2 separate regions of the Homo sapiens genome follow, and region 1 is linked to region 2. The links are contacts of gene promoters, found by promoter capture Hi-C in blood cells and fetal thymus (Javierre and others, 2016). All regions are on one chromosome and are shown on one strand. The core of a region is centred on a gene start or on the middle of the fragment in contact, and the rest is flanking DNA. Distances in the headings are between cores, read along the strand shown. Region 1 holds the start of ZNF695 (zinc finger protein 695). Region 2 holds the start of ZNF670 (zinc finger protein 670).

What was found. The method cuts DNA at HindIII sites, captures the fragments that hold promoters and counts their contacts. A CHiCAGO score of 5 or more calls a contact.
Region 1: the fragment with the promoter of ZNF695 here is called in contact with the fragment with the promoter of ZNF670 in region 2 in 4 of 17 cell types (neutrophils, M2 macrophages, erythroblasts and 1 more); the score reaches 6.9 in neutrophils.

The regions. Positions count from the first base shown.
Region 1 is chr1:247,006,125-247,012,869 of GRCh38, reverse strand. It overlaps ZNF695 (zinc finger protein 695), which reads left to right and starts at 4,813. Exons shown (of 4, transcript NM_020394.5): 1 at 4,813-4,964. The coding sequence starts at 4,962. All of the region lies in intron 1 of ZNF670-ZNF695 (ZNF670-ZNF695 readthrough (NMD candidate)), which reads left to right. RefSeq lists silencers at 4,561-4,620, 5,121-5,220. The HindIII fragment of the contact is 12,382 bases long and covers 2,538-6,745 here.
Region 2 is chr1:247,074,192-247,080,736 of GRCh38, reverse strand. ZNF670 (zinc finger protein 670) reads left to right here and starts at 1,926. Exons shown (of 4, transcript NM_033213.5): 1 at 1,926-2,143. The coding sequence starts at 2,141. ZNF670-ZNF695 (ZNF670-ZNF695 readthrough (NMD candidate)) reads left to right here and starts at 1,926. Exons shown (of 7, transcript NR_037894.2): 1 at 1,926-2,143. RefSeq lists silencers at 1,892-1,961, 1,750-2,063. The HindIII fragment of the contact is 6,434 bases long and covers 897-6,545 here.

The sequences.
Region 1 (6,745 bases), core at 3,564-6,063, 71 kb after region 2:
CCTGTAGTCCCACTTACTCGACAGGCTGAGGCAGGAGAATTGCTTGAATCCGTGAGGCGGAGGTTGAAGTGAGCCGAGATCACACCATTGCATTCCAGCCTAGGCGACAGTGAGACTCTGTCTCGAAATACATAAATAAATAAATAGAAAATAAACTGTAACTCTAAAATCCTTAGAAGAAAACATAAGGGGAAAGATGATAACATTGGTCTTCGCAATATTTTCTTGGGTATGACATCAAATATATAAACAACAACAAAAAAGACTAAAAGAATGAACTACATTAAACTTAAAAAACTGCATGTCAAAGGAAACATTCAGTGGAGTCAAAATCCCACCTAAGGAATGAGAGAAAATATTTGAAAAGCAAATATCTGACAGGATATATATAAACAACTACAAAAACTAAACAAAGAAAAAGCAAATAATGCCATTTAAAAGTGGGCAAAAAACTGACCAGTGATATACAAATCCTTAGAAAAATGCAAAGCAGCCAGGCGCAATGGCTCACACCTATAATAAAAATACAAAAATTAGGCCGGGCGCGGTGGTTCACGTCTGTAATCCCAGCACTTTGGGAGGCCGAGGCGGGCAGATCACGAGGTCAGGAGATCGAGACCATCGTGGCTAACATGGTGAAACCCCGTCTCTACTAAAAATACAAAAAATTAGCTGGGCTTGGTGGCGGGCACCTGTAGTCCCAGCTACTGGGGAGGCTGAGGCAGGAGAATGGCGTGAACCCGGGAGGCGGAGCTTTCAGTGAGCCGAGATCGCGCCCCTGCACTCCAGCCTGGGCGACAGAGCGAGACTCCGTCTCAAAAAAAACAAAAACAAAACAAAACAAAACAAAAAAAATTAGTTGGGTGTGTTGGCAGGTAGGTGCCTGTAGTCCCAGCTACTCGGGAGACTGAAGTGGGAGGTTCAGTTGAGCCCAGGAGGTTGAGGCTGCAGTGAGCCAAGATTGCACTACTTCACTCCAGCCTGGGTGAAAGAGTAAGACCCTGCCTCAAAAAAATAAATAAATAAATAAATAAAATAAAAATGTAAAGCAAATCTACCAGATTTCCTTTGCTAACACCCATTACATGGCCACTATCAAGCAAATAAAGAACCCACAAATGGTCTCTAGGATGTGGAGAAACTGAGACCTCTGTGCACTGCTAGTGGGGAAATATTGATCCAGCTACTATAAAAAATAGTACAGAAGTTTCTCTCTCTCTTTTTTTTTTTTTTTCTTTTTGAGACAGAGTTTTGCTCTGTTGCCCAGGCTGGAGTGCAATGGTGTGATCTTGGCTCACTGCAACCTCCGCCTCCCATGTTCAAGTGATTCTCCTGCCTCAGCCTCCCTATAGATGGGATTACAGGCACACGCCACCACACCCGGCTAATTTTTGCATTTTTAGTAGAGACGGGGTTTCGCTATGTTGGCCAGGCTGGTCTCGAACTCCTGACCTCAGGTGATCTGCCCTCCTCGGCCTCCCAAAGTGCTGGGATTACAGGCGTGAGCCACCGCACCCGGCCGTACGGAGGTTTCTCAAACGGAATTATTATATGATATAGCGATTCCACTTCTGGGTGTCTATCCAAAATATGCAAAGCAGGACCTGAAAAACTTACCTGCACACCCATGTTTATTGCAGGAATATTCATGAAAGCGGAAACGTGGACGCAACCCAAGTGTTCTTTGATGAATGAATGCATAAAGAAAATGTGGCATCTGGCCAGGCGCGGTGGCTCACCCCTGTAATCCCAGCACTTTGGGAGGCCGAGGCGGGCCAATCACGAGGTCAGGAGATCGAGACCATCCTGGCTAACACGGTGAAACCCCGTCTCTACTAAAAATACAAAAAATTATCTGGGCATGGTGGCACGCGCCTGTAGTCCCAGCTACTCGGGAGGCTGAGGCAGGAGAATCACTTGAACCCAGGAGGTGGAGGTTGCAGTGAGCTGAGATCACGCCGCTGCACTCCAGCCTGGGCGACAGAGCGTGACTCCATCTCAAAAAAGAGAATAGTAACAACCGATTCAGAAATATGAAACAGATTGAGTATTTTTCCCAAAGAAGACATACAAATGGCCAACAGGCATATAAAAAGGTACTCAACATCACCAGTCATCCCACTAAAAACACACGTCACTCAAATTCTAAAAAGGAATTACATTAAATATAACAAGTATTTGTACAAGAATATTTATAGATCTTTTGTTCATAAAAACCCAAAATAGGAAACAACCCGAATGTCCATCAACAGAAAAATGGTTCAGCAAATTGTAGAGCGGATATTCATACAACAGGATGCTACCCAGCAGTACGAAGACACAAGCCACTGAAGCACACACCCTGACTGCATCTCACAAGCTGGGTATATGAGACAAAGTGGAATAAAATGCATATTGTATGGCTTCAGGCAAAAATGAACCTAGAGTGAAAATAAATCAACACAGCCTCTGAAAGTAGAAAAAAACTGCCTGGGAAGAAATACGAGGAAGTTTTCTGAGAATGATGAAAATATTCCATTCTTAAAAGGGGTGAAGCTTATATGGGTATATTTTATTTTTTAAAAACTGTACATTTAAGATTTGTGCCTTTCAATGTGTGTACATCTGACCTCATGCAAAAAAAAAAGGAACTAAAAAAATACAGCAGTGGGTGCAGAATGGGTTGAAGCATAGATGAAAGAAAAATGGCACAAGATGAGTAGTTCTTGAATCAGGGTGACGGGTCTATTATACTATTTCGTTTATTTTGTATATGGCTAAAATTTTCTGTAATAAAACGCTTGTATGAAAAGGCAAAAGTGATGTACAATGTTAGCTCTTAAGATCTTTAAATGAACCAGTTGTGGTGGTTGTGTGCCTGTAGTCCCAACTACTCAGTTGGCTGAGGTAGGAGGATCGCTAGAGCATCTTCAGCCTGGGTGAAAGGGTTAGACTCTGTCTCAAAAAAAGAAAAAAAAAATCGGCAGGGCACAGTGGCTCACGCCTGTAATCCCAGCACTTTGGGAGGCCAAGGCGGGTGCATCACCTGAGGTCAGGAGTTCGAGACCAGGCTGGCCTATATGGTAAAACCCTGTCTCTACTAAAAATACAAAAATTAGCCGGGTGTGGTGGCAGGCGCCTGTAATCCCAGCTACTCGGGAGGCTGAGGCAGCAGAATCGCTCGATTCCGGGAGGTGGAGGTTGCAGTGAGTCAAGATCGCGCCATTGCACTCCAGCCTGGGGGACAAGAGCGAGACTTCGTCTTAAAATAATAATAATAATAATAATAATAATAATAATAATAATAATCTTACTTACCACTGGGGAGGTAGATAAGGGAGGCAGATAGTAATTGTTGGGATATGAGTGATGCTGGTTCTATTTCTTGGTTATACAACTGTATTTGCTTTGTAATAACTCACAGAGCTTTACATGAATGCTTTGTATTTTTTTGTATGTGTGTTGTGTATCAAAAAAATTATTATATATTTTTACATAAATCCTAACTTAGAATCTCAGAATAACAGTAGTGTTTTATTTTGTTTGAAGTGAGACACACTCACCCATGATACCATCAAATGACTTTAAATATTCTGAGCTATTCATTCATGTTGTAACCTTGGGTGCTCCCCTAGGTCTTTTCAGTTTTACTCCAATTTGGAAAGTGGAATGGTTTCAATCTGGGGGGATGCAACTTTTTCCCAGCAAAGTCCTCTCCCCACAATGATGTTCACCAAGGCCAGGGCAGCTAGTACAGTGCCCTGTGCATAGCAGGGCAGTTGTAGAACTGGGCTGAATCAGAAACAAAATTAGTAGCAACCACTGGTTCAAGGTAAGAGATGCATTAACTGTGCATGAATTCCATATGTGTTGTGAGGGTTTGCCCCATGGCCAGTCCAGGGTTTAGGTCTTAGAAAATAGCTTTGCCCTGTTAAGAACCAAAGAATGACTTCAAGACATACTCAGCTGTTTGGCTAAATTTCTGCAGGAGGAAATGTCTTCACAGCCGATTTTTTTGTTTTGTTTTGTTTTTGTTTTTGAGATGGAGTTTTCCTCTTATTACCCAAGCTGGAGTGCAAAGGCATGATCTCGGCTCACTGTAACCTCCGCTTCCCAGGCTCACGCGAGTCTCCTGCCTCAGTCTCCTGAGTAGCTGGGATTACAGGCGACCACCACCACTCCTGGCTAATTTTTAAAAATACTTTTAGCAGAGACGGGGTTTCGCCATACTGGCCAGGCTGGTCTCAAACTCCTGGCCTCATGTGATCCTCCCTCCTCAGCCTCCCCAAGTGCTGGGATCACAGGCGTAAGCCACCACGACCCGCCAGATCCTAGAAAATTTTAAATGACACGCGTGGCTCACCTTTTATTTATATTGCATATTGCTGCCTGAGAGGATTGCCTCACTTTCCACAGCTCAGGCTGCCTGGTCAAAAGACCAGAGGCCCGGAAGGTTATGAAATCGGAAACTTTAAAATAATTATCATTCATTGTTTCTATTTGTGAAATATATATGTGTGTGTGTGTGTGTGTGTGTGTGTGTGTGTAAAACTTATGAATGGATATAATCTTATATACAAGGTTAAATGCCATTATCCCCCAGGCAGGTGGGTCCAGGTCGAAGTGCCGTGAGGAATGTCGCTTCAAAAGGGCTGCACCCAAAAACCTGTCACTCTTGTTTCATTCGGCCCAGTGTCTGATCGCACCTCCTGTCACTCAAGACCTGAGGGGGTGGGGCCTGGAGCCCCATCCAGTCAGCGGCGCTAGCGTGAGAACTGTCCAATCAGGCGTGCAGCCAGAGAGGAAGGGGCGGCCTTGGGGATCTGGCGGGGCCTTTGTCTCCTTGCGGCCGGCGGGGTGCTGGGTTCCCGTCTGCTGCCTCTCGGAGAGTCCCGGGTGACTGCCGCAGGCTCCATCGCCCTGTGGCCTGCAGGTATTGCGAGATTTATAGGGAGGACGCTGGGACCCCCAAAAGCTGGGAAATGGTGAGTGTGCGGAGCAGGGTGTCCCGAGAAGGGAGAGGGGGTGGTTGGAATCGGTTGGAATTGGCTGGAACCAGCGCTGGCGGCCCCGGGCCTCCCGGCGGTCGGCTCCGGAGTGTGCGGCCGAGTCCCGCTGGCGCAGCTCGGCCCTCAGTCCCGTCCCGCGCAGGTGGGGGCCGGGCCGGCAGCGGGATCCCGGCCGCTGGGTGACTGTCCGGTCTCTGCCTGGTGACTTCGGCACGGCCCAGAGCCCTCCCGGGGCAGCCCCGCGCCCGCAGCGCCGCGTCTTCCCTGGATTGTGCTGTGATGACGGAGGGGTTGTCGGGAGAGTCCCGACTCCCGTGAAAGGTTCCTGGGTGGGAGGAGCTGTGGTCTGTGGGTTCCTTTCTCCTCTTTTTTTTTTTTTTTTTTTTTGAGACGGAGTCTCGCCCTGTCGCCAGGCTGGAGTTCGGTGGCTCGATCTCGGCTCACCGCAACCTCTGCCTCCCAGGTTCAAGCGATTCTCCTGCCTCAGCCTCCCGAGTAGCTGGAATTACAGGCGCCCACCACCACGCCCAGCTAATTTTTGTATTTTTATTAGAAACGGAGATTTCACCATGTTGGTGTCGATCTCTTGACCTCGTGATCCGCCCGCCTCGGCCTCCCAAAGTGCTGGGATTACAGGCGTGAGCCACCGCGCCCGGTCTCCTTTCTCCTCTTAAAAAAATAAACTGAAGCACCTTTGAAATGTTAAGGAGTTTATTCCAGCAAACAGTGATTTATGAATCTGGAAGCCCCTAGCCCTGGTTTGGGGCTAAACTTGAAGGGAAGGTCTTCATAAGGTGCACGAGGAAGCAACCACGTTTAATAATTGATCGGTTGCCATTATGCAGTCACCTTATTTGGACTGTCCAGGATGAAATTTCCTGATTATGTAATAAGAGATTTATTAGCATTTAGTGGTTGGTTAAGCCTACGTTTTGTTTTTCTCCAAGTTTGCAATTTACAAGAAATTCATCTAAGTTAGCTAGGATTCCTTAGATAGAATCCCAGGACATCAAAGCCACTCAGTCTAATTGTCTGCCATTTAAGTATTCTAACACTCCACAGGGGAACTGGTTTTCCCAGCATTTTTCAAATGTATGGCAAGCAGGACCTCAAATCCAGGACTCTGTTCCCCCAGCCTAACTGTTTTAGGGCCTGAAGGAAATCTTGTTTCCAGTTTCTTTTCTACATTCCCAAATGCTAACTTTGTCTCTCCAAACACAACATTATCAACTATTTGTTCTTTTTATTTATTTATTTTTTTTGAGACGAAGTCTCACTCTGTTGCCCAATGGCAGGTAAGCTGAAGTGCAGTGGCACAATCTGGGCTCACTGCAACCTCCACCTCCCAGGTTCAAGCGATTCTCCTGCGTCAGCCTCCTGGTAGCTGGGAATACAGGCAGGCGCCACCATGCCCGGCTAATTTTTGTATTTTTAGTAGAGATGGGGTTTCATTATGTTGGCCAGGCTGCCCTCGAACTCCTGACCTCGTGATCCGCCCGCCTCAGCCTCCCAAAGTGCTGGGATTACAGGCATGAACCACCGCGCCCGGCTTATTTGTCCTTTATTTGCTTTTCAAACAGATGCAAGATTTTAACGGTTCTTTTTTGTTTTTTTCACAGTGCAATGAATGGGCTTTTTTTTTTTTTCTTTTTTTTTTGAGACAGAGTCTCGCTCTGTCGCCCAGGCTGGAGTGCAATGGTGCAATCTTGGCTCACAGCAACCTCTGCCTCCCGGGTTCAAGCGATACTCCTGTCTCA
Region 2 (6,545 bases), core at 677-3,176:
GGTCATCTTTTTGCAACGTATATAACAGAAAAAGGGAAGCACACAGTTTCTGTCTGCTCCAGAAAATAAGAAAGCTCTCAAAACATATGGTACAAGGACAAAGGAGGCAATGTATAGAGCCCCTCACTTACGATGGGACAATTTGGCCGGGCGCGGTGGCTCACGCCTGTAATCCCAGCACTTTCGGAGGCCGAGGTGGGTGGATCACCTGAGGTCAGGAGTTCCAGACCAGCCTGGCCAATATGGTGAAAGCCTGTCTCTAGTAAAAATACAAAAATTAATCAGGCGTTGTGGTGGGTGCCAGTAATCCCAGCTACTCAGGAGGCTGAGGCACGAGAATCGCTTGAATCCGGGGGGCAGAGGTTGCAGTGAGCCGAGATCATGCCACACTGCACTCCAGCCTGGGCAACAGAGTGAGACTCGGTCTCAAAAAAAAAAAAAAAAAAAAGGGATAATTTGAGCTCAAAAAATAGATACAGACTGCAGTGTATGGAATCTCATTAAATACACAAAAAATAAGGTTAGAAAAAAGTCACTCACATTTTTTTTGTTTGCTGAGGCCACGCCGTCATTGTTATGACAATTGATTAAAGGGAGAATCAAGCTTTTATTCTTCCTTTCCTAATAGGGTAGGTTTTAATGTAATGGAGAGAGTTCATGAGAAAACGCCATTTTTAATAGAAGAATGAGAACTAATACCTGTAGAGAAAATAATTAGAAAACCACTATTTGGCAACTCTCACTGAGATAAGTGAAATTAAGAAATAGTAATCAATAAATAATGAACAGTTACATGAAAGGAACAGGCAGACATTCCCGAACAACCTTAAAATAAAGTGGTAAAACCAGACACGTGTATCCAAATGTGCAGGCTGAATTGAAACATGCTGGAAGCTTAATATATAGAGTGATTTTTCATTAATAATATATCGATTGTAAGGCCGTCTGAGCAGGCTGCGCCATGGTCAAGCCATTGTGATCCCTGTGACCCACACGTGTACATCCAGAAGGTCCTGGAGCCAGAAAGTCTGGGACAACAGGAAAACCACAAAGGAAGAAAAACGGCTAGTTTCTGTCTTAGCTGATTAGCCAACCTTGCAGCATTTTACCGTTGTGACGTGCACTACCCTAACTGATCAATCAGCCTAGTGACACTGTGACCCCTCCCTCTTGTGACAATGTACTTTGTGACATTCTTCCCCCGCCGGTAATAAACGGCCCCTGACTGTAACTTTCCACTGCTTACCCCTCACCTATAAAACTAACTCCAATCCCACGACCCTCCGCTGACCCTCTTTTCGGACTCAGCCCGCTCGCACCCGAGTGAGTAAACTAGCCTTGCTGCTCACACTTAACCTGTTTGGGTAGTCTCTTCAATTAGGCGCGAGCTTAACATCGATCATATATTGAAACAATATTTTTGGATATATTTGGTTAAATAAATCATTGTAATCAATTTCACGTGTTGTTTTCTTTTCTATTGCTACTGGAACACACGCGGCTCACATTTTATTTCTATGGGGCGTTGCTACCTGAGAGGACATTGTCTTTTCAAAATTCAAGCTGCCTCTAATCCCACTAGAAGCAAGAAAAAAAAAAAAATTCAGGCTGCCTCCTCAAAAGACCAGAGGCCAGGAAGGTTGTGAAATCTGAAATTTTAGAATAATTGTCATCATAGTGTTTCCAATTGTAAATATCACAAATATTACTCATAAATGGACATAATCCTGTGTATGAGCTTGAATGGGAAAGTCCCCCGGGGGGCGCCAGGTCTCAGCACAGGGCAGAATCCATGCCTTAGAAAAGGACTGCAGGGAAAGAACCTGGCCTCACTCAGCGCCGTGTCTGATTGCATCTCCCGTCACTCAGGACTGAAGGGGCGGGGCCTAAGGCCCTGTCCAATCGGGCGCTGGGAAGGGGACTGTACTCTCAAGCGCGCCGCGAAAGGAGGGAGCAGCTTCCGGGACCTGGCGCGGCTTTTGTGTTGGGCAGCGCGAATGTGGCGAGCTCGGTGCGTCTCCGCTGCTCCTTCCCCTTATCCCTGGGAGGTCCAAGTGGTCCCGCGGCAGCTTCTGTTGCTCTGGGACCTGCAGGTCCCGGAAGGTCCTTAGGGAGGACCCCAGACACCGGAGACTGGGAAATGGTGAGTGTGCCGGCCAGGTGTCTCGGGAAGGGGAAAAGGGAACCGCCAGGAAGCGGTTGTGGCGAACCCGGACCTCCCCGCGGTGCCGACCCGAGTTTCCGCCGGCGCCTCGCGGCCTTAGTGGCACAGGATGCGGGGCTGGACCCGCAGCCAGACCCCGGGCCGCCTGGCTTGTCCCTGCCCCGCCGCTTCGGCCAGGCCCGGAACCCTTTCTGGGCAGCTCTGCCTCTGTAGACCCGCATCTCCCTCGGATCGTGCGGTGCCGACGGGAGGGTCCTCAGGGGAGAGTCCCGACTTGGGGTTCGGGGTTCCTGCGTGGGAGGAGCTGTGGTCTGTGAAGTCTCCAAATCCTCCTTTCTCCTGTTAGAAAGAAAACTGAGGCGCCGTTAAAATATTAAGGAGTTTATTTGAGCAGAGAGTCGTGAGTTAGGAAGCCACCAGCGTGGTTTGTGGTTTGGGGAAGGAAAGGGTTTTTTGTAAGGAACCCGAGGAAGCAAACCCAATTAAATAATTGATCGTGTACAGTTATGTAGTCACCCCATATAGACTGTGCAGCCAGATATCTCCTGGTTATGTAACCAGAGGTTAATTGGTGGGTTCGTGGTTGTTTAAGGCTGTTTTGTTTCCCTTTAAGTTATTAATTTACAAGACAAGCATGAGTTACGTTTTGGTTGGTTGTTTATTCATTCATGTGTGTATGTACATGTGTATGATGGAGTCTTGGACTCGGGCTCAAGCGATCCCCCCACCTCAGTCTCCCTAGTGCCTGTGTTTAATTATTTTCACATAACACTCCACATTTCTAAGTGTATGGCAACAGGATCTCACATCAACGACCCTGTTCCCACAGCCTAACTCTTCTGGGGCTTGTAGTAAAACCCTAAATTTCCAATTCTTTTCCTATATTCAAATGCAACATTATCAAGTATTTGTCTTTTATTGTACATTTCATACAGATGAAGTGTGTTATTTTTTTCAGAGTAGTGAGTCGTTCTGAAAATATTTGTTTTCACTCTTAAAATATTTCTGAACATTACACATGAGTGGAAAGCAGAAAATAATCACCTGACAGTTAATTGTAGAAAAAAAAAGTCTTTGTGCATCTCCTAATTTTATCTTTTTTGAGTGTGCACATCTTACCAGAGTATCTTTGGGGTGAAGTTCCCTTTTGGAAACTTTAGAGGGTGATATGTCCTCAGCCACCCTTATATCTTTTCTTGGTCCTCTGTTTAGCAGCCAGATCTCTTGGAGTGTCTAATGAATACCTTCTCCTGGGTCATCTCCTCACAGAGGACAGTTTAAAATATGGAAGTAGAGCCTCTCCAGGCAGCATCTGGGTGCCCTGGAGTTGAGAGACGTCTCCTAGTATACTCTTCGTTTAAAAAACAAATCCCTGGTGCATTGGGATTTTCTTCCTCCAACCCCAGTTTTCATCATTCCTTGGAGACACGTTGGTGGCAGCCAGTCAGATGCTGGTATTAAGGGAAAAATCTAGAAATGATTCCTGCGCTCTGGATTTTCTCGGACTTGGGAAAGGAGAAAAACTATCTCAAAGGACAAGGAATACCCACCCCAGTGAGGTGGTGCAAGAACCAGAAAAGCACCATCATCAGAATTATGTAAGAAGAGAGTTGGCTGGGCGTGGTGGCCCACGCCTGTAATCCCAGCATTTTGGGAGGCCAAGGGAGGCAGATCACTTGAGGTCAGGAGTTTGAGACCAGCCTTGCCAGTATGGCAAAACACTGTCTCTACTAAAAATACAAAAATTAGCCCAGTCTGGTGGTGCATGCCTGTAATCCCAGCTACTCAGGAGGCTGAGGCAGGAGAATCGCTTGAGGCCAGGAGGTGGAGGTTGCAGTGAGCTGAGATGGTGCCACTGCACTCCAGCCTGGGTGACAGAGGGAGACTCAGTTTGAAAAAGAAAAAAAAAAAAAAGAGAGTTTATTCTAAAGTATTGCAATGGGGAAAAACACCAGGTATAAGAGCTGCAAGCATGTTAAAGTTTAGGCAGAAAAGGGCTTAGAAATTCAGGCACACAGGCCAGGTGCGGTGGCTCACGCCTGTAATCCCAACACTTTGGGAGGCCGAGGCGGGCGGATCACGAGGTCAGGAGATCGAGATCATCCTGGCTAATGTGATGAAACCCCATCTCTACTAAAAATACAAAAAATTAGCCGGGCATGGTGGCGGGCGCCTGTAGTCCCAGCTACTCAGGAGGCTGAGGCAGGAGAATGGCGTGAACCTAGGAGGCAGAGCTTGCAGTGAGCTGAGATCACGCCACTGCACTCCAGCCTGGGTGACAGAGCAAGACTCCGTCCCAAAAAAAAAAAAAAAATTCAAGCACACAGTGGGGCACAGTACAGTGTCTCCTGGGAGGGTGGTCATTGAGTATTTCTGTGAGGAGAATGGGCCTGTGAGGATCTCCAAAGTGATGCAGTGACCTGACCTGACTCTTGACCCAGAGATGTCTGTGTTCTGCCAGCATGACCCCTCCCTGAGTTTATTGCCTTGAAAAGATTTATTCACTTAGTTCAGTTTCAGTTTTTCATTAACTTTAAAATATGTTTTATTCAGAGAGCTTGAAAGATTAAAAAAAAATATTTCCAAAGAGACAAGAAGGAGGTGGATTTCAAGGGGGCAAAAATCTATTCATATTCCATTTGTTAAAAATTCTTGTTAACCTTTTTCTTCCCAAGAGTGAGTGTAGTAAGTTTCTCAAGTCTGTTCTTTTTTGAAGGAGATTTCAAATGGAATTCTAGGACTTTGCTTTGGGAATGTGTATTAGTTTGTTTTCATGCTGCTGATAAAGACATACCTGAGGCTGGACAATTTATAAGAGAAAGAGATTTAAAGGACTTATATTTCCACATGGCTGGGGAAGCCTGACAATCATGCGGAAGGCAACAAGGAGCAAGTCACGTCTTACGCGGATGGCTGCAGGCAGAGAGAGAGAGAGCTTGTGCAGGGAAACTCCAGTTTTTAAAACCATCAGATCTCATGAAACGTATTCGCTATCACCAGAACAGCAGGGGAAAGACCTGCCCCCATGATTCAATTACCTCCCACCACGTTCCTGCCACATGTGGGAATTGTGGGAGTTACAATTCAAGATGAGATTTGAGTAGGGACACAGCCAAACTATATCAAAATGTTACCAGGGAAAAATATGAAAAATCTCTTTTCCATTATGGCTGCAGAAAAATGAATACATTTCCACAAGCAAGTGTTGTAGATAAATTGGTGAATTATAAATATTTATCAAAACATCAGTGCCTCCTTTTTGCAGGGTGGAGAATTTATAACAGTGGATAACCCTGTTTTTTATCCTGTTATCTGGACATTGGAGTTTAATGCTAAGTTTTATGGGATAGGACTTGGCAACTCCTGGAGATGATTTGTTATCATGGAAATAATAAATAAATGACATATTTATTATATGATAGGGATAGATACTTTGGCTTTTCCAGTTGAGGTATTAAACGTAAGTGCCTCACTCAGTTCTTCCTTGGGAGCCTCCCTTTACAGATGTCCCAGCCTGCTCACCTCAGCCATGAAAGGAGCTCTTTATATTGAGAGAAGCTACAGAGTTCTGGAAATCTGGTGTTCACAGGTGGATGTGGTTGGGCCTGGATTGAAAGGATGAGATCCCCTTTTTAAGGGTGTAATTTTCATTGTCCTGGCATTCTTTCTAGACATTATTCAATAAAGCAGGGGTCCCCAACCCCTGGGCCATGGAGCAGTACCTGTCGGTGGCCTGTTAGGATCCAGGCCATGCAGCAGGAGGTGAGCAGCAGGTGAGTGAACATTACCACCTGAGCTCCTTCTCCTGTCAGATCAGTGGTGGCTTTAGAATCTCAGAGGAGCACGAACCCTACTGTGAACTGTGCATGGGAGGGATCTAGGTTGTGTGCTCCTTATGAGAATCTAATGCCTGATGATCTGAGGTAGAACAGTGTGGTCCCAAAACTATCCCCACCATCCATGGAAAATCTGTGTTCTATGAAACTGATCCCTGATGCCAAAAAGGTGGGGAACTGCTGCAATAAAGTAAATTCAGAATTATGTAAGAAGGGAGTTTATTCTGAAGTATTGCAATGAGGAAAAACACTGGGTATAACAGTGGCAAGCATGTTAAAGGTTAGGCAGAAAAGGGCTTTCTTTCATAGGAAGGAGCAAACTAGATTAGAAAAAAGAGGAGAGGAAGAGGGCCGGATGGATTCTAGATCAGAGAACATTTCACCCTGAGGTCAGCCTGTTCACAGGAGAGGCATAAAGAGGGGTTGTATGTTGGCTCAGGCTGAGGGTATATCAGAGTTCAGGGGCCTGAGGGAAGGAGGGAAACTTAAGTAAAATTTGGTTAGCAAGTATTTTGTTCTGACCACTGAAGACAAATTTGGTCAGC